7 separate regions of the Homo sapiens genome follow, and all the other regions are linked to region 1. The links are contacts of gene promoters, found by promoter capture Hi-C in blood cells and fetal thymus (Javierre and others, 2016). All regions are on one chromosome and are shown on one strand. Each heading gives the region's core, a stretch centred on a gene start or on the middle of the fragment in contact. The rest is flanking DNA. Distances are from core to core; before and after follow the strand shown.

Evidence for each region. Contacts are between HindIII fragments. The CHiCAGO score rates a contact against its expected background, and 5 or more counts as called.
Region 2: a fragment that was not itself captured here is called in contact with the fragment with the promoter of PLA2R1 in region 1 in 1 of 17 cell types (M2 macrophages); the score reaches 6.6 in M2 macrophages.
Region 3: a fragment that was not itself captured here is called in contact with the fragment with the promoter of PLA2R1 in region 1 in 2 of 17 cell types (M2 macrophages and M1 macrophages); the score reaches 6.0 in M2 macrophages.
Region 4: a contact is called between a fragment that was not itself captured here and the fragment with the promoter of PLA2R1 in region 1, in 1 of 17 cell types (M2 macrophages). The highest score is 6.6, in M2 macrophages.
Region 5: a contact is called between a fragment that was not itself captured here and the fragment with the promoter of PLA2R1 in region 1, in 1 of 17 cell types (M2 macrophages). The highest score is 5.1, in M2 macrophages.
Region 6: a contact is called between a fragment that was not itself captured here and the fragment with the promoter of PLA2R1 in region 1, in 2 of 17 cell types (M0 macrophages and M2 macrophages). The highest score is 5.4, in M0 macrophages.
Region 7: a fragment that was not itself captured here is called in contact with the fragment with the promoter of PLA2R1 in region 1 in 1 of 17 cell types (M2 macrophages); the score reaches 5.2 in M2 macrophages.

The regions. Positions count from the first base shown.
Region 1 is chr2:160,061,040-160,064,338 of GRCh38, forward strand. It overlaps PLA2R1 (phospholipase A2 receptor 1), which reads right to left and starts at 1,576. Exons shown (of 30, transcript NM_007366.5): 1 at 1,256-1,576. The coding sequence starts at 1,364. The HindIII fragment of the contact is 10,793 bases long and covers 1-3,299 here.
Region 2 is chr2:160,943,043-160,946,138 of GRCh38, forward strand. No RefSeq gene overlaps it. Among named protein-coding and RNA genes, the nearest start is that of TANK-AS1, 220 kb to the right of the region's middle. The HindIII fragment of the contact is 667 bases long and covers 1,501-2,167 here.
Region 3 is chr2:161,013,679-161,016,866 of GRCh38, forward strand. No RefSeq gene overlaps it. Among named protein-coding and RNA genes, the nearest start is that of TANK-AS1, 150 kb to the right of the region's middle. The HindIII fragment of the contact is 6,228 bases long and covers 1-3,188 here.
Region 4 is chr2:160,996,446-160,999,369 of GRCh38, forward strand. No RefSeq gene overlaps it. Among named protein-coding and RNA genes, the nearest start is that of TANK-AS1, 160 kb to the right of the region's middle. The HindIII fragment of the contact is 3,574 bases long and covers 1-2,924 here.
Region 5 is chr2:161,039,658-161,042,843 of GRCh38, forward strand. No RefSeq gene overlaps it. Among named protein-coding and RNA genes, the nearest start is that of TANK-AS1, 120 kb to the right of the region's middle. RefSeq lists an enhancer at 315-484. The HindIII fragment of the contact is 476 bases long and covers 1,138-1,613 here.
Region 6 is chr2:160,962,326-160,965,509 of GRCh38, forward strand. No RefSeq gene overlaps it. Among named protein-coding and RNA genes, the nearest start is that of TANK-AS1, 200 kb to the right of the region's middle. The HindIII fragment of the contact is 656 bases long and covers 1,130-1,785 here.
Region 7 is chr2:161,055,741-161,058,813 of GRCh38, forward strand. No RefSeq gene overlaps it. Among named protein-coding and RNA genes, the nearest start is that of TANK-AS1, 100 kb to the right of the region's middle. The HindIII fragment of the contact is 3,661 bases long and covers 1-3,073 here.

The sequences.
Region 1 (3,299 bases), core at 326-2,825:
AACACAGTCTAGAAAAGACTACCTCAAAAATGTAGACATATTCTACTGTGGAGGAAAAAATGTGAACGCAGATATTGATCACATCTTGTGTTACCCCTTCTCTCCAAACTTATCTCCAAAGGCAGAGAGGATGGAGGCTGTCTGGAGGCTCCTCCTGGCATATTTAACTCCCTCCTGTCCCCCTCCTACTTGCATATATGGACTTCTGCACTTAGGCGCAGGCTTCTCTGCCTGAGGTGGCCCATTCTCAAATGCGGGCCCCTGCAGGCCAGAAATCTCTCCTCCCTCTCTTTACACAACCTTCTGAGTCTCATGTGTAGTAGGTGCTCAATAAGTGTTTGCTGAATTGAACCCCGTTTTTCCACTGAGAGAGACTAAGGCATAAAGGCTTCAGATCACGCAGTTCATGGAGCCACTGGGGCTTCTCTCCCTCACCTGGCCTGATGTTTTCAGGCGGGGTGCGGTGGGTCAGGCCTGTAATCCCAGAACTTTGGGAGGACGAGGTGGGCGGATCACTTGGGCCCAGGAGTTGGAGACCAGCCTGGGCAACATGGTGAAACTCCGTCTCCACCAAAAATACAAAAATTTTGCTGGGCGTGCGGGCGCACACCTGTGGTCCCAGCTACTCGGGAGGCTGAGGTGGGAGGATCGCTTGACCCCGGGAGGCGGAGGCTGCAGTGAGCCGAGATCCCGCCATTACACTACAGCCTGGGCGACAGAGCAAGACCCTGTCTCAAAAAACAAACAAACAAAAAAAGTTTTCCTTAAGGAAGGGATGGACTGGGGAGGCCTGGCTTGGGGGTCACTCCTAGGTGGCGACGCAGACCCTGAGCGCTTGCTTTGCAAGGGGACGAACTGAGCCATCTTTTTGCTATCATTTATCCGTCCCAAATAAGCAGCTCTCAGAAAGTTTCCGTTTTGAAACTTCTCCGACACTCCTATCCCGGGCTGGCTCCGGGCGCCAGAGCCGAGAGGAGTTACCTGCGAGACCAAGCCCCCCCGCCCCCGCCGCCCGACCCCCGCAGGAGCCAGGAGGGTGCCGGGCCGCGCAAGTGGGGTGCTGGGCCTAGACAAGAGGCTGCAGGACACCACCCGCTCCCCCCATGCTCAGGACTGCTGACACACGAACCCCTACAAACGCGGCCGCCCTTGCCCGCCAGCTTGGCCCCTAGCTTCGCCCCTTCTTCCTCTCCTTCGACCACCCCGACCCCCCTCCCCAACGTACCGATCCAGTCCCCGACCCTGGGAGACTCACCCTGCCACTCCAGGAGCCGCTCGGGGGTAAGCGCCGCCGCCACACCCTCGGCGCAGCCCCGCGGCGCCCCCAGCAGCAGCAGCAGCAGCAGCGACGGCGACAGCAGCATCGCTAACCACTGGGCTCTCCGGGAGCCCCTTGTCCCGGGAGCCCCTTATCCCGGGAGCCCAGAGCCGCGTCCCAAGCACCCGGCCCCGCCGCGCGGAAGCGGATCCGTAGCCTCCTCCGCGCCCCACCCCCTCCGGGGGCCTTGCCAGCCCAGAGCCCTGGAGACCCACTCCGCCACCGCTGTCTCCACAGTGAACCGACACTCGGGGCTCTGGGCTGGGATGCGGGAAAGTCGCGGAGGTTTTCCTCGCCCCACCCACTGCGGCTTGGGGAAGGAGGAGGAGGAGGGGTGGGCCATCTGCCCATCCCAGAAATTCCTGCCTTTGGGGTGGGGACAGGCGGAGTGAGGCTGCTCGGGTCACACTCTCCGCTCCTCTAGCTTGCAGCCCTGCTCTCTCCTTTCTGGGGGAGGCCGAAGAGGAGTTGTGGGTGAGCGATTTGAGAATCTCCGGGACAAGGAGCCTGACATCCGGGTTTGCAAACCACCTGGATTCTGGTAAACACCGCGGATTTGCAGCGGGCAGCCTAGAGTGAACCCAGCTGCTCCGCGACGCAGGCGCTTTGGGAGGGTCCTGGACTCCTTTGACTTGTGGAGCACTGGAGACACCTGAGGGGCCACGCCGTGGTCTCCACCTTCCTTGCCCCAGAGTAACCCGGAGATTCTTCTATTCAGCTCCTTCGGTTTTGAAATAACCTCCTCTTTCCAACTCCTTTGATCCCCCAAGCCCCGCAAAGTAGCCGGGGTCCCTATTATCCCATTTTTACAGCTGAGAAACCCTGCCCAGAAAGTCGAAGTGCTTTGCTCTAGGTTACTTCCTAATCCAGCAAAAGTTACTCTCTAGCAAGTAGGACAGCCCTGGCTAGAATGTAGTCGTTCTAACTGTCCTCCTTCAAATAACCAGCAGAACACTGGAAGCGTTTAATATTCTGAGAACAGGCTCATATAAGACCTTTCCTCAGCGGGACCTTGACATTAGTCATTAAAACATAAGAGAGGGGGAGGGGAGGGGCAGAAAGCAGAGCCTGGAAGGAAATGCCTAGCAGGGAGCAAGATTGAAGGTCAGAGCCAAATGGGGAAGAAGGGAAAGTGGTTGCCTTGGCCATGGCCTTAACAAAAGGTGCTCAGTCCTGCAGGAACCTCAGAGAGCCTCAGAACTGTCTGTCGAGGACAAAAGGGGCAAGCGTTTATCCATGGACTTTATCCTTCCCTGTTGGTAAGGGAGATCCTAGGGTTATTAACTCCTCTGCACTGTTCTACAGCAGTGGTGAGTTTCAGTCATGGTCCCATACCTTGTCTCTTAGAAGCCCTGGGTGCATAGCATGGCAAAAGGTGAGGCGCTGTCAGGTTGTTTCTCAGAGGGTTGGGGGGTGGGGGACAGCCGGGGGAAACAGGCTGCAGAGGGGGCTGGAATAAGAGGTGGGTTGAGAGGATGTGAGAGGTTCCAATGTGTGTAGAGTTTATAACATATCATTACATGTAGAATTCAGCATCCTTGCTTGAAAACATGCAGAAAAGAGATGCTTTAAGCCTAGTAGATTACACAGACTTCAGCCACAAACTATGTATCCATCTCTCCTATGGCCTCAGAACTACATTGCTATGGGAATATCCCCGTAGTATTATGATAGAAGATTTGGCCCTGCCCGAGCAGGCTGGCATGTATTGCAGCAGGCAAGTGCAATGCACATGACATAATTAGGTCATAAAACAGGACACTGATGCTAATCTCTGGTGAGGTCCAGGGCAGTGAGAGTAAAGGGGAGAGAGACTAGGCTGGAGTGGGCATAGAGGCCTAACTATGCTCAGATAGTATGGTGGGTATTGGGAGGAAGAGGCTGTTCTAGGATGGGAAGAAATTGTGAAAAAAAAAATTATACAAAGGTTGGAGTGAGAACTGCTTGTATGGGAGAGAGTGAGGCATGCCTGGCTGAAATA
Region 2 (3,096 bases), core at 584-3,083, 880 kb after region 1:
TTGCATTTATGAATAATTTGAGGCTATATTTAGGCATCTCCAGTCATTAGGTACCTACATTTCTGTATACAGCCTATAAGGTTTTATATATTTTTTTAGAATTCTAGAAATTCATGAGAAAGAAAGCTCTTAATATTAGGTCACTTAGTCAATTACCTCCTTTCCTGCCTAATGCAAGATTATTCCCAATAGCTCTGTTTCTAGCGCTCTGTTGCCTATTTTTAAATGTACTAACTGATGGTGATTCTGCCACTCCCCTCAGGAGACCGTTATCCTGGCTCGCCACTCTCAGTGTCAGGGGGCATTCCCTGCTAATTAGCTCCAACTTGCTATTTCTTGCTTTTCCCATTATCCTTGGTTATCAATTCCCTTGTAACAACATTATTTGTCTCACATTAGTTATATATTTTTAGATAGTTTCCACAGTTTCACAAGCTACTCTTAAAAGGAGTTGAGCTATTCAGTACCAGACCATATCTTAATTAGTCACACTGTGGAAGGATGAAGATGGAGTTAATGGAATTGGTCACTGGGTTCTCCTGTTTCTAGCAATATATTGCATTATCCTGTGCCTGCATTTCCATACTTGTCCACATTGATTTTATCAGTGTGAGGTCACCCTTCTCTACAAAGCAATGTCTTCTTTAAGCGTAATGCATCTAGGGCATAAGACGGTGTACAAGAAAGGGCCACTTCCTTATCTGACAAATGGGGGGTGAGAATGCCCACTATTTAGATCCCTACAAATGTTCAATGATAACGGGCATGCAAATAATTTAACAAAAATTCTAGTATGCAGTATACATAAGAAATCCTGAGGCATATCTGTACACTAAAATGAATACAGATTTGGAAGCCAAATAGACCTCATTCTATTTTTATCTTTGTCACTTGATGGTCGTATGACCTTATCAACACTTACATGCAATTATTTATTATATAATACTTCACAATTTGCTGGACTGAAAATTTCTCAAAGGGAGGTATTATGTCTTACATATATTTATGCACAGTGCTTCGACTTACGTTGTTTAACCTTCCTGAGCCTTAGTGTTCCCGTCTGTGAATTGAAGTGGGTGTTACATACCTCTGTGTCACAGACATTTTATGCCCTGGCTCACATCTTCTTAGCCCACCTTTTTTCTCTAGCTATTGCTATAACTACCAGATGTGCACAGGAATAGCCTGATGATAGCTCACCTCGGCTGCACCCTGAGAACTCTGCCATCACCCAAGAGACATCTGCAGGAGGCTGGCTGCAGGAAGAGAGCCCTCTTCTAACATTTAATCAGTGGTCCACACTGGGGAGATACAGTTATCACCACTGAGAGAGGGAGGTACTATTGGCACCTAATAGGTAGAGGTCATTGTAGGATGCTGTTAATGTCCTATAAGTACAGCATAGCCCCTCACAACAAAGAATTATCTAGTCCAAATGTCAATGGTCCCATTGTTGAGAAACCTTGACCTAGAAACTGCAAAAACCTCATCGGAGGAAGAAGCTTCATAAGATACTCTCCTCCCTGTCATGTTCTGCTCCCATCTACCCTCACTGTCTCCACACTGGACCCAACAGAAAGTTATTTATCTAATCTGTAAGCATACATACTAAACAATTAGCAGATTCCCTCCATTGTTTCCTATCCTATAGAATGAGAGCTATAATGATAGGAATGTTTAGGCCACAGCACCATTGTGAAGTGTATATGATCCTGGCTTTGGAAGAAAGTAGTACAACCAGAGAATTTTAAGACCTGGTTAATGCACCCAGGAGAAGCCAGGGGAACAGGTGTAGGAGTAGATCTTAGAGTACCCAACACAAGGTTAGCACATAAGGCTGGAGAAGGGAGAATGTATTGATGTTAGAACACTCTCCCGTGACATGGGGTTCAACATCTTAGCAAAGACACATAGAACTGGTCCTAATACACTGCTAAAATTGTTCCTTATAGCTTTGTCCTTATCAAAGTAATTAGGTAAGTCAGGCCTTGGCAGGGTTTTGGGGAAGGGCTTGAAGGGCTCAGGGAGGTGGAAATGTTGGAATGGGTTTACTGTGTTACATCAAAGTACCCACCACCTGACTCTGTTGCCTGAGGGAGTCCAAAGAACACTCCTACAATCAGTCAATGAAGAATGCAGAGTGAGGGGAGCACCACCATTGTGGAGAAGCTTGGTTGTGTTGTTGACAGTGGGAAGTGCTATGTTAGAACCAGTCTCCCTGGTATCAATGGAATTGATAGGATTCTCAAATAGGAGAGGCTAATTTGTCTTCACAGAAATAGGGTGGTCATAATTTCTGAAATAAACAGTGAGGCCAGAGTGATGACCTGAGAGCTTTGACCCATAGGAATCGGTAGCAGTTGTTAATAAATCATGGGAGCAAGACAGATGGGCAGCCAACTAGAGTTTCACTTCATCTATAGAGCCAGCAGGAGAGATCTGGAAAGCAAAAAACTGGTGTCTGTCGCCCCAATGGGAAATCACACTCTCTCACCCATTTACTAGATCTAAGTCAGTTCCCAGACACAGAGCTCAGTCTCTGATCCAGAGCTCAGTGACTATCAAAGAGACTAGGTCCATTTGGCAATATCCTGCAACACCACTGCAAAAATTTAAAATAAATATCTCCTGATCCTTTCCCAAAGGAACTTGAAGCTATTTACCAGAATATCAGATATACACTGGGGAAACAAAAATACCCAGACCATGCAAGGACTTTTAGACTCAGAGTCTGAGTTGGCTCTAAAAGCAAGGAATTGAAAATGCTATTGTGACCCTTCATTAGAAAGAGGCATGTAGAAGCCAGGTGATGAATAGAATCCTGGCCCATGTCCATCTCATAGTCGTCCAATGGGGCCGCAGGCCACCTGTGTGGTTATTTGCCCAGTCCCTCAGTACAATCAAGATTGGTTCCTTGGCCACTGAAATAAGAGCCACTGTGGGTTTGGAAGAGACATGGGAAGTTCCCCAAACTGCAATCCTACATCTCAAGAGAAATTGCAGAAATTAGCACCACCACCAAAGACTTGAAGGATGAAGGGATAGCCTCATTCAATTCACCTATTTGGCCCTTGCAAAAACTAGAAGGATCATCAT
Region 3 (3,188 bases), core at 380-2,879, 950 kb after region 1:
ACTAGAAAATCTGCAAGAAATGGATAAATTCCTGGATACATACACCCTCCCAAGACTAAATCATGAAGAAGTTGAATCTCTGAATAGAACAATAACAAGTTCTGAAATTGAGGAAGCAATTAATAGCCTACCAATCAAAAAAAGTCCGGGACCAGACGGATTCACAGCCGAATTCTACCAGAGGTACAAAGAGGAGCTGGTACCATTCCTTCTGAAACTATTCCAAACAATAGAAAGAGAGGGACTCTTCCCTAACTCATTTTAAAAGGCCAGCATCATCCTGATACCAAAGCCTGGCAGAGACACAACAAAAAAAAAATTTCAGCCAATATCCCTGATGGACATCGATGCAAAAATCCTCAATAAAATACTGGCAAACCAAATCCACCAGCACATCAAAAAGTTTATCCACCACGATCAAGTTGGCTTCATCCCTGGGATGCAAGGCTGGTCCAATATACACAAATCAATAAATGTAATCCATCACATAAACAGAACCAACAATAAAAACCACATGATTATCTCAACAGATGCAGAAAAAGGCATTTGACAAAATTCAACAGCCCTTCCTGTTAAAAACTCTCAATAAACTAGGTATTGATGGTACATATCTCAAAATAATAAGAGCCATTTATGACAAACCCATCTCCAATATCATACTGAATGGGCAAAAGCTGGAAGTATTCCCTTTGAAAACAGGCACAAGACAAGATGTCTTTTCTCACCACTCCTATTCAACATAGTATTGGAAGTTCTGGCCAGGGCAATCAGGCAAGAGAAAGAAATAAAGGGTACTCAATTAGGAAAAGAGGAAGTCAAATTGACTCTGTTTGCAGATGACAGATTGTATATTTAGAAAACCCCATCGTCTCAGCCCAAAATCTCCTTCAGCTGATAAGCAACTTCAGCAAAGTCTCAGGATATAAAATCAATGTGCAAAAATCACAAGCATCCCTATACACCAATAACAGACAAACAGAAAGCCAAATCATGAGTGAACTCCCATTCACAACTGCTACAAAGAGAATAAAATACCTAGGAATCCAACTTACAAGCGATGTGAAGGACCTCTTTAAGGAGAACTACAAACCACTGCTTAAGGAAATAAGAGAGGGACACAAACAAGTGGAAAAACATTCCATGCTCATAGATAGGAAGAATCAATATTGGGAAAATGGTGATACTGCCCAAAGTAATTTATAGGTTCAATGCTATTCCCATCAAGCTACCATTGACTTTCTTCACAGAATTGGAAAAACTACTTTAAATTTCATATGGAACCAAAATAGAGCTCACATAGCCAAGACATTCCTAAGCAAAAAGAACAAAGCTGGAGGCATCATGCTATCTGACTTCAAACCATACTACAAAGCTACAGTAACCAAAACAGCATGGTACTGGTACCAAAACAGAGATATAGACCAACGGAACAGAACAGAGGCCTCAGAAATAATGCCACACATCTACAACCATCTGATCTTTGACAAACCTGAGAAAAACAAGGAACAGGGAAAGGATTCCCTATTTAATAAATGGTGCTGGGAAAACTCACTAGCCATATGCAGAAAGCTGAAACTAGATCCCTTCCTTACACCTTCTACAAAAATTAACTCAAGATGGATTAAAGACTTAAACTTAACACCTGAAACCATAAAAACCCTAAAAGAAAACCTAGGCGATACCATTCAGGACATAGGCATGGGCAAAGACTTCATGACTAAAACACCAAAAGCAATGGCAACAAAAACCAAAATTGACAAATAAGATCTAATTAAACTAAAGAGCTGCGCAGCAAAAGAAACTATCATCCGTGTGAAAAGGCAACCTACAGAATCGGAAAAAATTTTTGCAATCTATCCATCTGACAAACGGCTAATATCGAGAGTCTACAAAGAACTTAAAGAAATTTACAAGAAAAAAAACAAACGACCCCATCAAAAACTGGTCGAAAGATATGAACAGACATTTTTCAAAAGAAGACATTTATGCAGCCAACAAACATGAAAAAAAGCTCATCATCACTGGTCATTAGAGAAATGCAAATCAAAACCACAATGAGATACCATCTCACACTAGTTAGAATGGCGATCATTGAAAAGTCAGGAAGCAACAGATGATGGAGAGGATGTGGAAAAATAGAAACAGTTTTACACTGTTGGTGGGAGTGTAAATTAGTTCAACCATTGTGGAAAACAGTGTGGTGATTCCTCAAGGATCTAGAGCTAGAAATACCATTTGACCCAGCAATCCCACAACTGGTTATATACTGAAAGGATTATAAATCATTCTAGTATAAAGACACATGCACACGTATGTTTATTGCAGCACTCTTCACAATAGCAAAGACTTGGAACGAACCCAAATGCCATCAATGATAGACTGGATTAAAAAAAATGTGGCACGTATAAACCATGGAATACTATGCAGCTATAAAAAAGGATGAGTTCATGTCCTTTGCAAGGACATGGATGATGCTGGAAACCATCATTCTCAGCAAACTAACACAAGAACAGAAAACCAAACATCTCATGTTCTCACTCATAAGTGGGAGTTGAACTATGAGAACACATGGGCACAGGGAGAGGAACATCATGTACCAGGCCCTGTTGGGGGATGAGGAGCTAGGGGAAGGATAGCATTAGGAGAAATACCTAATGTAGATGATGGGTTGATGGGTGCAGCAAACCACCATGGCACGTGTATACCTATGTAAAAAACCTGCAAGTTCTGCACATGTATCCCAGAACTTAAAGTGTAATTAAAAAAAAAAAAAAGAAACTACCACTTGTTGAGTTTTGGGATAGTATTGAGGAGAATATGGACAGTATCTGAAAATGCTATTAAATATTTTTCTATTTTCCAACTGCACATCTGTATGAGGCCAGACTATCTTTATATGCTTCAACCGAAACAGCATATCACAAGAGTTTGAATGCAGAAACAGATATGATAATCTATTTTCTATTAAGCCAAATATTGGCTTAATAGAAAGACACTGGGAGAAATTTTTAAATCTACTCAACATTAATTTTTATTTTGCAAAATATATTTTCATAAACAATATGTGATTTATGTTAGCACATAATAGTTTTTGTATTTAAAGTAATAAATATTTTAAAATTCTCTGTTTTAACTTCCAACATGATAAATATTGATAGATATAACACATAAAAACAAATTATTGGGGT
Region 4 (2,924 bases), core at 386-2,885, 940 kb after region 1:
GTAACATGCTGGACTGGTTTGTGGCCTAGGAGCAATAGGTTGTGCCATATAGCCTAGGTGTGTAACAGACTACACCATCTATGCTTGTGTTAAGCACACTCTATGATGTTCACACAATGACGAAATTGCCAAACAACACATCTCTTAGAACCCATCCCTGTCATTAAGCCATGCGTGACAGTCAATAAAAATATCTTCATGGAACTAAGTGAAAGATGCTGATAACCAGTGCTCTCTGTAGTGAGCTGTGTGTGTCTTTCCATTTGCATTTATTTTATTTGGCTATTTTGTGGTATTTTTTTCTATCTAAGGTAACTGCACAAAGTAAATCATTTTGCCTTATCAGCATTCTAAACACTTTGGTTTTCAATGTCTTTATTTTTAATAGAAGTTCAATATTTGTCCTCATGCAGATCTATTAGATAATTCATATGAAGCATTTTGCATAGCACCTTGCATGGGAAGGCTTAGAAATAGTCATTGATACTATTGTTATAGGATTATCCATTTTAGAGAAAACTTATTTTAAATGTTAAACAAGAATACCATTAGTGATTTGTTTACAGGTTACTTCTACATTGTACAGAGGTGAAATAGTTTTCATGACAGAGTTAAACAGTCTCTCCATAAAAAGTTAATATTTAGAAACTTGAAAAAAGCCAGGGGCAGTGGCTCATGCTTGTAATTCCAGCACTTTGGGAGGCTGAGACAGGCAGATGACTTGAAGCCAGGGGTTCAAGACCAGCCTGGCCAACATGGTGAAACCCTGTCTCTACTAAAAACACAAAAATTAGCCAGGCGTGGTGGCATGCATCTGTAATGCCAGCTACTCAGGTGGCTGAGGCATATACAATCTTTTGAACCTGGGAGGTGGAGGTTGCAGTGAGCAGAGACTGTGCCACTGCACTCCAGCCTGGGTGACAGAGTGAGACTCCATCTCAAAAAAAAAAAAAGGAAGAAAAAAGAAAAGAAAACTTGAAAACAGTGGCAAATTTGTCTATTTCTGTTTTTTAAAAAATATTTAAATTATTTAATTATTTGTCTTTTTTAATATTTTTATTATTATTATACTTTAAGTTTTAGGGTACATGTGCACAATGTGCAGGTTAGTTACATATGTATACATGTGCCATGCTGGTGTGCTGCATCCATTAACTTGTCATTTAGCATTAGGTATATCTCCTAATGCTATCCCTCCCCCCTCCCCCCACCCCAAAACAGTCCCCAGAGTGTGATGTTCCCCTTCCTGTGTCCATGTGTTCTCATTGTTCAATTCCCATCTATGAGTGAGAACATGCGGTGTTTGGTTTTTCGCCCTTGCAATAGTTTACTGAGAATGATGATTTCCAATTTCATCCATGTCCCTACAAAGGACATGAACTCATCATTTTTTATGGCTGCATAGTATTCCATGGTGTATATGTGCCACATTTTCTTAATCAAATCTATCATTGTTGGACATTTGAGTTGGTTCCAAGTCTTTGCTATTGTGAATAGTGCCGCAATAAACATATGTGTGCATGTGTCTTTATAGCAGCATGATTTATGGTCCTTTGGGTATATACCCAGTAATGGGATGGCTGGGTCAAATGGTATTTCTAGTTCTAGATCCCTGAGAAATCGCCACACTGATTTCCACAATGGTTGAACTAGTTTACAGTCCCACCAACAGTGTAAAAGTGTTCCTATTTCTCCACATCCTCTCCAGCACCTGTTGTTTTCTGACTTTTTAATGATTGCCATTCTAACTGGTGTGAGATGGTATATCATTGTGGTTTTGATTTGCATTTCTCTGATGGCCAGTGATGATGACCATCTTTTCATGTGTCTTTTGGCTGCATAAATGTCTTCTTTTGAGAAGTGTCTGTTCATATCCTTTGCCCACTTTTTGATGGGGTTTTTTGTTTTTTTCTTGTAAATTTGTTTGAGTTCATTGTAGATTCTGGATATTAGCCCTTTGTCAGATGAGCAGGTTGCGAAAATTTTCTCCCATTTTGTAGGTGTCTGTTCACTCTGATGGTAGTTTCTTTTGCTGCGCAGAAGCTCTTTAGTTTAATTAGATCCCATTTGTCAATTTTGGCTTTTGTTGCCATTGCTTTTGGTGTTTTAGACATGAAGTCCTTGCCCATGCCTAGGTCCTGAATGGTATTGCCTAGGTTTTCTTCTATGGTTTTTATGGTTTTAGGTCTAACATTTAAGTCTTTAATCCATCTTGAATTAATTTTTGTATAAGGTGTAAGGAAGGGATCCAGTTTCAGCTTTCTACATATGGCTAGCCAGTTTTCCCAGCACCATTTATTAAATAGGGAATCCTTTCCCCATTGCTTGTTTTTCTCAGGTTTGTCAAAGATCAGATAGTTGTAGATATGCAGCGTTATTTCTGAGGGCTCTGTTCTGTTCCATTGATCTATATCTCTGTTTTGGTACCAGTACCATGCTCTTTTGGTTACTATAGCCTTGTAGTATAGTTTGAAGTCAGGTAGGGTGATGCCTCCAGCTTTGTTCTTTTGGCTTAGGATTGACTTGGCGATGCGGGCTCCTTTTTGGTTCCATATGAACTTTAAAGTAGTTTTTTCCAATTCTGTGAAGAAAGTCATTGGTAGCTTGATGGGGATGGCATTGAATCTATAAATTACCTTGGGCCGTATGGCCATTTTCATGATATTGATTCTTCCTACCCATGAGCATGGAATGTTCTTCCATTTGTTTGTATCCTCTTTTATTTCATTGAGCAGCGGTTTGTAGTTCTCCTTGAAGAGGTCCTTCATATCCCTTGTAAGTTGGATTCCTAGGTATTTTATTCTCTTTGAAGCAACTGTGAATGGGAGTTCACTCATGATTTGGCTCTCTGTTTGTCTGTTATTGGTGTATAAGAATGCTTGTGATTTTTGCACATTGATTTTGTATCCTGAGACTTTGCTGAA
Region 5 (3,186 bases), core at 126-2,625, 980 kb after region 1:
CTTTTGGCAAATTACTTATCCTCTTGGCCTTAATTTCCTAATCAATAAATTGGGAATGAAAAGAGAACCTACTTTATATCATTCTTGCAAGGATTAAATGAAATTATACATATTAAATGCTTAGAATAATGTTGGGCACAAAATAATTACTCAATTAATATCAGATAAAATTAATATTTCAACACAATTTTATGATTCACTAATTGACTCTTCAGTTATGTCTAAGTTATGTCTAGTTCACTATGTCGAGTCTTGTTATATCAACAACCTTATTTTTTATTGCCATTATTTCTAAGTGGTTCTTTTTCATAATAACCCATTCTTGATTTATAACATCATATTTTTATATATCTATATAGCTATCTATATGTCTATGTATAGATACTTTCACCTCTTTATCTCTTTGAGGTTATTAAATGCATTTACATTTTTGATTTTATAAAATTACCTTTTTTTACTTCCTTAGATGTAAGCTCTTTTTTGAAATTGTGCTTTCCTGTCTATCTGGAGGTTTTTAGCTAGGAACTTATTATGATCAGGAGATTTTTCAAGATTTCAAAAATAATCTGCTGGATTATAATTTCCACATACGAGCTTTGAGCAGGGAGCATAGTGCCAGTACACAGGCCTCAGTCAGACATCTGTATAGAGATCACCCTGCGGGAGAACTCAATTCCAGGCCCTGTCCCTGCAGGCACAACCCAAGCCTAGCCCATGGGTTTAGGACAGATGTCACTGCCATGACTCCTGGCCTTGTGCTGGCCGCTCAGCTCTCACTTCAGGTGGCTCCACTGTAGACTGGCAGGGCAGTTCCATTGCTGGCCATCCTCTGGCCTCAGAAACACCCACCTTCTTAGAGCCTTTTCTTATATCATCCAGGTTCAGCCATTTTTTTCAACTGCTCTGAGTCCTATTTGACATTTTTTTGTCTGCATTATTCTCAGGCTCCTCCCATGTGCTTAATTGCTTCCCACGCTCACTTGTACCACATACTCTCCTGAACCCTGTCCCCAATGTTACAATTATATTTAATGAGGCAAGATATTCTGTGTGTGTGTGTGTTTGGAGGGGTAGGGGGGCAGGGTCTCGCTCTGTTGCCCAGGCTGGAGTGCAGTGGTGCAATCTTGGCTCACTGAAAGCTTAACCTCCTGAGCTCAAGCGATCCTCCTGCCTCAGCCTCCCGAGTTGCTGACACTACAGGCATGCACCACCACACCTAGCTGATTTTTGTACTTTTTGTAGATGCGGTTTTGCTATGCTGCCCAGACTGGTCTCAAACACCTGAGGTGAAGGTGTTCACCCTCCTCAGCCTCCCAAAGGGTTAGGATTATAGGCATGAGACACCACATCCGGCCAAGATATTCTTCATCAGAAACACTTAGGAATAAGTTTGTCTTCCCCTCCCTATTTCTACAGCCCCAAGTTGCAGAAGTTTTCAAACCCATAGTCTTTCAAAATCCCCCAATCTCTCCAAGCCTCCCATTTCTCTACAGTCATTCTTACAGGAGACACCAATACCTGTAAGGGCCCTGGCAAAACCAATCACTTGGTATGACAGCAAGTCTTGAAACCAGGAAGGAGGAGGGGGCAATAAAAGTGCCAGCAAGTGGAGAAGCTTACCGTATTCATCCAGATCTCAGCTCTCCACAGCCCTTCCCCTTGCTCTATGGCTTTCTCTTTATAGTTACTACAGAAGTCCTCTACAAGGTATAGCTCAGATGTAACACTTCAGAACACATTAACCATCATGACAACCTCATGGTAGATACTTTTTTCCTCTCTCCTGTGGTATGGACTGGACTTAGTAACTGTTTCTCCTTCCAATCACACACACACGTTAGCTTGTGTACAGACACACACACACACACACACTTCTCAAGATGAAAAAACTCGTGTGATAAGACTTGCTGCCTTCTTCCATGATTCATTTCCCCCTTTTCCATATGCTCTCTGCCTGCATAAATACCTTTAGCCTATTCATTAATTCCCTGGTAAATGTATTCAATTCTTCCCTCTGTTCCTTTTTTCCAACACTCCATTTGCTTTTTAGAAGTTTTAGCTCTAACCTTATGCTCTCTGTCTCTCTAACCCTGCAGTGATTGTCACTGTCTTTCTGTGTTTCTCTTTCCTCAAAGTCTTATAAAATAGAACATACTGCAAAGCAGTGGTGTTCCTGGGATTTAGCATTTGGGATGGCAGATGGGGTGGTAACAAATCTGCCTGTGGGGGCTGGGTACATCCCCCAGCACTCCCAATCTATTACATACATTTTGAATGAAAAATGTTAAAGATAATGGAATTAAAAGCACATTAATAAACCACTTAATCTATTTAGGAGAAGTTGAGAAAAGAAACTCTTTACTAATACTTAATCTAGTACAACTCACATATAACTGAACATAATCCCCTTGATCAGCAAGCAGGTATGAGAGATTTCGCTTTTGTGGTCTCACTACAACTTAGGCATTGATGAAGAAAGCACTGGCAAAGGCAGCTCCAGTATCAGAAGTTAAGGTTGGCTGCCAATCATGTTTTGTTTAGAATCTCTTCTTGAACCCTGGTTTTTACTCACTGTTTTCACTCAAACTATCCACAGACTCATTTTTTAATAAGACCAGGATGGCTCTTGCCAAATCGTAATGTTATAATTATTCCTTTTTACATATTCCTCATTTAGATTGCAAACTCTCTAAAGAGTAAAGACTGTCAGTCTGTTCCATGGGATGCCAGTGTGCAAAGTAGGAGGGAAGTAGAGCACCTCCTATCTAAAAGGAATATGCACTGTGCAGGCATTTCACCTCTTCATTCTTCTGTAATCATTGCAACCACCTATGTTCACAGATGTCAGTATGGAAGCTCATAAAGGTGAAGTAATTTTACCAAGATCATAAAACTAGTAAGAGAGCTTGGATGCAAACCCAAGTCTTGACTCTAAAGCTTGTGTCCTTTACACCACACTGTGCCACTCAGTGCTGCACGAATACATGATGAGTGATGAATGAATGAATCAATCCATCAAACAAGCCTGGACCCAAGGCACTTAAATTCTGCCAGTTCAACTTTCTGATTGCAAAATAAAGGGTGGCCATTTAATAGTGGATGTGAAAAATAAAAGTGTTCTGTGAAAAGAATGATATTGACCTCTAAATCAAAATTTTCAACATTTAGATATGCAAAAAAATAACA
Region 6 (3,184 bases), core at 208-2,707, 900 kb after region 1:
ACCCTGAAACTATACAACAATAATAGTGCTCTATATGCTAAAAATGTGGGCATATTTCTAAAGCAATACTTTAGCCTTAAGTGAATTTACCTAACAAGAAAGATAAAAAATAAATGAGCTAAGAATTCCACTGAAGACTGGGAGACGAAAAGAATAAATGCAAAGTAGAAGAAAGGATGTAATAAAGATAATAGCAGAAATTAATAAAATTTTTAAAACTCCACTAGAGATGATGAGGCCACCAAAATATTCCACCTGACTCCTTCAGAGTCCTTCACTGTCCATGATGCAGGACAAAGCTATCTTCATTCCTCACCTGTTGCTGGTGTGGAGTACCTACTGTCACTGCCCAACAGAAATACAATGTGAGCTACATATGCAATTTAAATTTTATAGTAGTCACATTAAAAAAACTACAAGAAACAGGTAAAATACATGTACTAATATATTTTATTTAAACCAATATATAAAAAATATTTCAACACACACTCAATATTTTTAAATTATCGAGATATTTTACATTCTTTTTCCATGCTGAGTCTTCAAATCTGGTATATATTTTACACTTGCAGATCATTTCAATTTGGACTAGCTGCATTTCAATTGCCCAGTAGCCAACATGCTACTGGCTAGTGTCTATCAAATTGGACAGAACAAACCTGTCTTCAAATGGCATCCCATATAATTTCAGAATTCTTTAGCCTTTGAAGTCATCATTGTATCTTATTTGTTTCTTAATAATTTGGCCTTTGGAACAGGATAAAGACTTGTATAACCATTTTTTCATCTGCACTGTATGTTCTGCAAGGTGATGGCAACCCTCTGGTAAGTTACCTTGCTGCCAATGTCTAAGTCTTTTCCAGCCAGTTGTAGTGGCATTAGTTCCGATAGTGGCCAAAGTTCTAGTGGCCGTATAGTTGACAGCATTTCAAAGAGTTACCTACTTACTTTCCATATTAGTGTTTACACAACAGAGATTCTCTATAGGCATCTCTATTCCCCAAGAATTTCATGTTGAAATAACAAAATGGCCTAGATTCACCTGAAGATAAATTGCTTTAATTATTAAGCAGACTGTGAAGCTCACAGTTTCAAATATCAGGTCAGTGCAGTGCCCAGCGTCAGCAGAAGCTTTGCTGTGCTATTTCTCCAGGTGCTACTATTGAGCCTTAATATTACTGGAACAATTCCATTCAGGACTAGCTTTATCTGTGCAATTTGCCCACTTCTTCAACAGAAGAAAATTGATCTTAGTAATTGTGAGAAGAAACTATGATTTCCCAGTGTTGTAAAGTTTAGTCCAATTGTTGGCATTATTATTAATATCTATGGAAATCTCACAGCATAATTATTTCTTAGGTCTTAGAATTGATGATGAAGCTGTATAGATACCTATCAACTCTCATTTTTACACTTTATGTGAGCTCATGAAGAGAATAGAGTGCTTAAGACTAACAGCACATGGACTTCAATTGGACAACCTGGGTTTGAATCCCAGCTTTACTTATTTATCAGCCATGTGTCTGAAACTCAGCTTCCTCAGCTTTAAAGTGGAAAGTATTAATTAAGATTACAAAAGGATTACACAAAATAACATATAAGGTGTATAACACAGGGCTCAGCACTCAGAAGTGTTTCATAAACATTAGCTAGGTCAATCTGTGAGTTCCTAATTTCTTTAAGCAAATTTGGGAGCATTGAAAAAAATGACCATCTAATAGCATTTCTAAAGCTCTGAAGACAATTCTTTCCAAAAGAAATTCCAGTTGACCTGTTTCTCTCTAAAGCTTACATCAGCAAGCTTTTCCTAACTGTGATGATCTCAACTTCCTTTCTGGATATTTATTATGCAACAATGCTAACGTTTTGGTTTGGAAGCTCCCCCGCTCAGGTCCCATTATCAATAATCAAGCCAGGTTAAAGCTCTCTAAACATACTTGGCATCAGCAGATGGAATAACCCAGTTTCAATGACACTTTCCCTAATCTTACCATTCTGAATCAGGAGTAGGCATTGTAAGGCCAACGATTTTTAAATTTTGGTTTTCCTAGATATATAATTTTTATGTCATTTTTGCTCTGGGTAAGGGGAGGCCAAGTCTGAACTGAGAAAATGAAATAATAGGGTTTATTTAAGCAAGGTACTCTGATGGGAATTTTGCCCCAAAGCCACTCCTCTCCCTTTATAGTAGGATGAAGCTCACCTTTAGATGCTCACCTGTTGAGATGGGCAATTCTCCCCTGTATTGCCATTTAGATTTACAGCTCCTCTCTTTGAGGTTCACATTCATTAAAACTATACATTTGATGCCCACACTATTCATCTGCTGAAATCATAGTATTCTGGAGCTAAAATTTCACTTTCTGAGACTTCTGTCAATCGAGAGTGTGGTATAAAACAAGACATGTTTTGGCATTTTTTCCAGTAAATCCGCTTTGTTATAATATTTCCTTTTGAAAATACTGATTAATAGTTCATGTAGTTAGTAGTATCCTCCAGGCACTGTTCTATTTGTTTTATAAAAATAATGCCCTTAATCCTCACAATAGCCCTATGTGATGATTAATTATTATTCTCACTTTATAGATGAGAAAAGTCAGGTACAAAGAAGTTAAGAAACCCCCTAAGGTCTCATAGTTGCCAAATGGTGAAGCCAAGATTTGAATGTGGATCTCATATCAGATCCTAAGCCTTTAACCACTATACCACATTCTGCCTCTCATTTAAAAAGCATTAGAAGCATATATAAAATCGAAAAGAAGATTTGGTGCATTACGAAGTAAATTTGTCACAAGTTTAGCATATTTCTGGAACCAAAAATATTAAAATAAACTAATCTTAATTTATACATGTCTAAGAAACCATATGCTTATAAACCACTAGGAGACACAGACAAGGATATAAAATGATTATGAAAATCAGCCAAAAGGTCAATGTAGCTTCCACCATGGTTACTGTGGTATTTTGGTGCTCTTATTTATGAATATTTTTCTTCCTCTCCCAACATACCCAGATTGTAAAAAGGTAAAGAAGAGTTCTTGTGTGTTGGACAATGTTTCTTTTTCTTTTTTTTTTATTAATTTGAGCAGGACATCATTATCCAAGCCCAGCCTTGAATATGTGCTATACACAAAACAATTTATCTACTAGAGTTCATGGGCAGCTGGATTGGGAAAAAACACAT
Region 7 (3,073 bases), core at 522-3,021, 990 kb after region 1:
GACATTCTACTGTGTTGTCTAATACAGCAGTCACTAGTCACATGTGGCTATGGAGCACAGGAACTGTGGTTAGCGTAACTGAAATTTTCATTTTTATTCATTTAAATTCAAAAAGCCATATACAGCTGGGCAGAAGACAGAGCAACCATTTTTTCTTTTAAGTTCCAGGATACAAGTGCAGGACGTGCAGGTTTGTTACAGAGGTAAACATGTGCCATGGTGGCTTGCTGCACCTATCAACCCATCACCTAGGTATTAAGCCCTGCATGAATTAGCTATTTATTGTAATACTCTTCCTCTCCCCCCAGCCCCTACAACAGGCCCCAGTGTGTATTTTTCCCCTCCCTGTGTCTATGCGTTCTCATTGTTCAGCTCCTGCTTATAAGTGAGAATGTGCGGTTTTGGTGTTCTGTCCCTGTATTAGTTTGCTGAGGATAATGGCTTCCAGCTTCTTCTTTGCAGAAAGTAAAAGTTCCTTTTTACTGTTTCTCTTCTTGTTAAAGAATAAGTCATAAGTGTTAGAAATAATAGTTTCTTTTAAAGACTAACTTTATGCTAGACATGCTCACAGGCACATAGTACATTCTATGACCTTGTACTTTAACCAAGATATCTGTGCTAGATGTGCTCACAAGCATGTCCCAGCTCGCAGCCTATGCCCCTTCCTTATTTGGGAATGTTATTACTTTTCTAAGTCTTTTCATAAGAAACTTCCTCCTTTCCTTTGTTCTTCTCTGCCATTATCTCTTTAGGAAAAGTTTTAAACCTTTAGCCAATCGGGAGCAGCCTAGACTGTGAGGTCCAATTCCAGCCAATGGAATCAGGACACAGCAGTAGGGTACGGATGTGTCAGATATAAATATTTTTATCCTCTTTGTTCAGTGTGCTCTCGTGGCAAGACTGCTGGCAAGCAGCACCCTTTCTGCAGAAAGTAAAGGTTGCCTTGCTGAGAGATCCTTTGTCTCCATGCTGACTTTTCTTGGTGACACCGATTATCTGCTTCTAACATCCATGTTTCTGCAAAAGACATGATCTCATTCCTTTTTGTGGCTGCATAGTATTCCATGGTGAATAAGTAACACATTTTCTTTATCCAGTCTATCACTGATGGGCATTTGGGTTGATTCCATGTCTTTGCTATTGTGAATAGTACTGCAATGAACATATGTGTCCATGTATCTTTATAATAGAATGATTTATATTCCTTTGGGTATATACCCAATAATGGGATTGCTGGGTCAAATGGTATTTCTGGTTCTAGATCCTTGAGGAATTGCCACACTGTCTTTCACAATGGTTGAACTAATTTAAACTCCCACCAACAGTGTGAAAGCATTCCTATTACTTCACAGTCTCACCAGCATCTGTTTCTTGACTTTTTAATAATTTCCGTTCCACTGGCATGAGATGGTATCTCACTATAGTTTTGATTTGCATTTCTCTAATGATCAGTGATGTTGAGCTCTTTTCATATGTTTGTCAGAGCAACCACTTTAAACAGGGTTTTATTGGTATACAAAAGCACAGAGTCCTATCCCCCAAAGACCCTGGTCCTGAAGTGCTGTAGAATAGGCCCAACCAATTAAAGATAGAGCTATAGCTCTTAGGACACAGCTTTATTTTGTTGGTGTTGATGATCAAAGATAACATGGAGAAAAAATGTGATCACAACTCCTGTACCTCCAGAGGAGGTTTCAGTAGCTGGTAGGATATTTGTTAGATACACAAGAAGCAAGTGGCGTCTCCCCAAGAGAATAGAATGGAGATTCGACCAACTTTCTGCTGAAGTGGGCCAGTTGAGAGCCATTAGGAAGGATGGCTGGAGTTCTAAGTGAAACAAGGAGCTGCTACCCAAATGTTTACTTGAACCCTGTTAATGTCTGATGACAATGGAGTAATTTCACAACAGAGACACTGAAACAGCCAATATCACAGTCTGTGCAACAATATGAAATTCAGATGGTCTAGAGTATTGCTAAAACACAAAGGGAGAGGGGAGAAAGGTTATCCATGAATAATACATTTCCTTTTGTGGAAGCAGGAGGAGAAGAAACAAATGGATCATTAATGGGCTTAACACAATTAGGCTTCACAGTGGGGCGGGGGCCAGCAGAAGCTCTTGCCAGCAATGCCACCAGCAGAGGAGGCTGCTGTGAAGTAGAGGAGGAGGGCAAGAGTTGGTGGTAACATTATTTTGGAGTTGCTGCTTTTTCTTCCCAGTATCCAAAGCCTCTTCTTGAATTGAAGATTAGTTGTGTTATCTCTATTTTTGTGGGGTTTTTTTTTTTTTTTTGAGATGGAGTTTCACTCTTGTTGCCCAGGCTGGAGTGCAATGGTGCGATCTCGGCTCACCACAACCTCCGCATCCTGGGTTCAAGCGATTCTCCTGTCTCTGCCTCCCGAGTAGCTGGAATTACAGGCATGCACCACCACTCCCAGCTGATTTTGTATTTTTAATAGAAACAAGGTTTCTCCATGTTGGTTAGGCTGGTCTCAAACTCCTAACCTCAGGTAATTCACCTGCCTCAGCCTCCCAAAGTGCTGGGATTACAGGCGTGAACCACTGTGCCCAGCTTGTTATCTCTGTTTCTAGAGCAAAATAGCCCAGTGGTAAAAAGAGCATTTCCTTGAGAATATATGAAAAGGTATTATCACATTTGAAAAGCGTAATTAATATGATAATGTGGAGAAATTAAGGATAAAGCAACCTAAAAAAAACAGGAAGTAATTAAGTGAAGAATACAACATTATTGAACATTGCCAAGAAAACAGACATACAAAAGTTGCAAGTTGTAGCTTGCTTTATGCAATAATGCACTTTGCTGTAAAGTAGCATACCTTGATCTTTTCAAAATCAGACATTTGAAACTTACTAATAGATTTCACTATTTAGAGGCATTCTGTGTGTATATATGAAAAAAAGGTCCTTTATGGTATAAATAATCTATCTAATCATGATCCCGTTGCAGGAATTTCTCTTTCTGTTCCATGGAGTAGTTGCAGACTTTGCAGTCCAGCAGACCTAGGTTCAAGCCAAGCTCTGCTTCATATTGATTATGTGACTTTGGGGGAG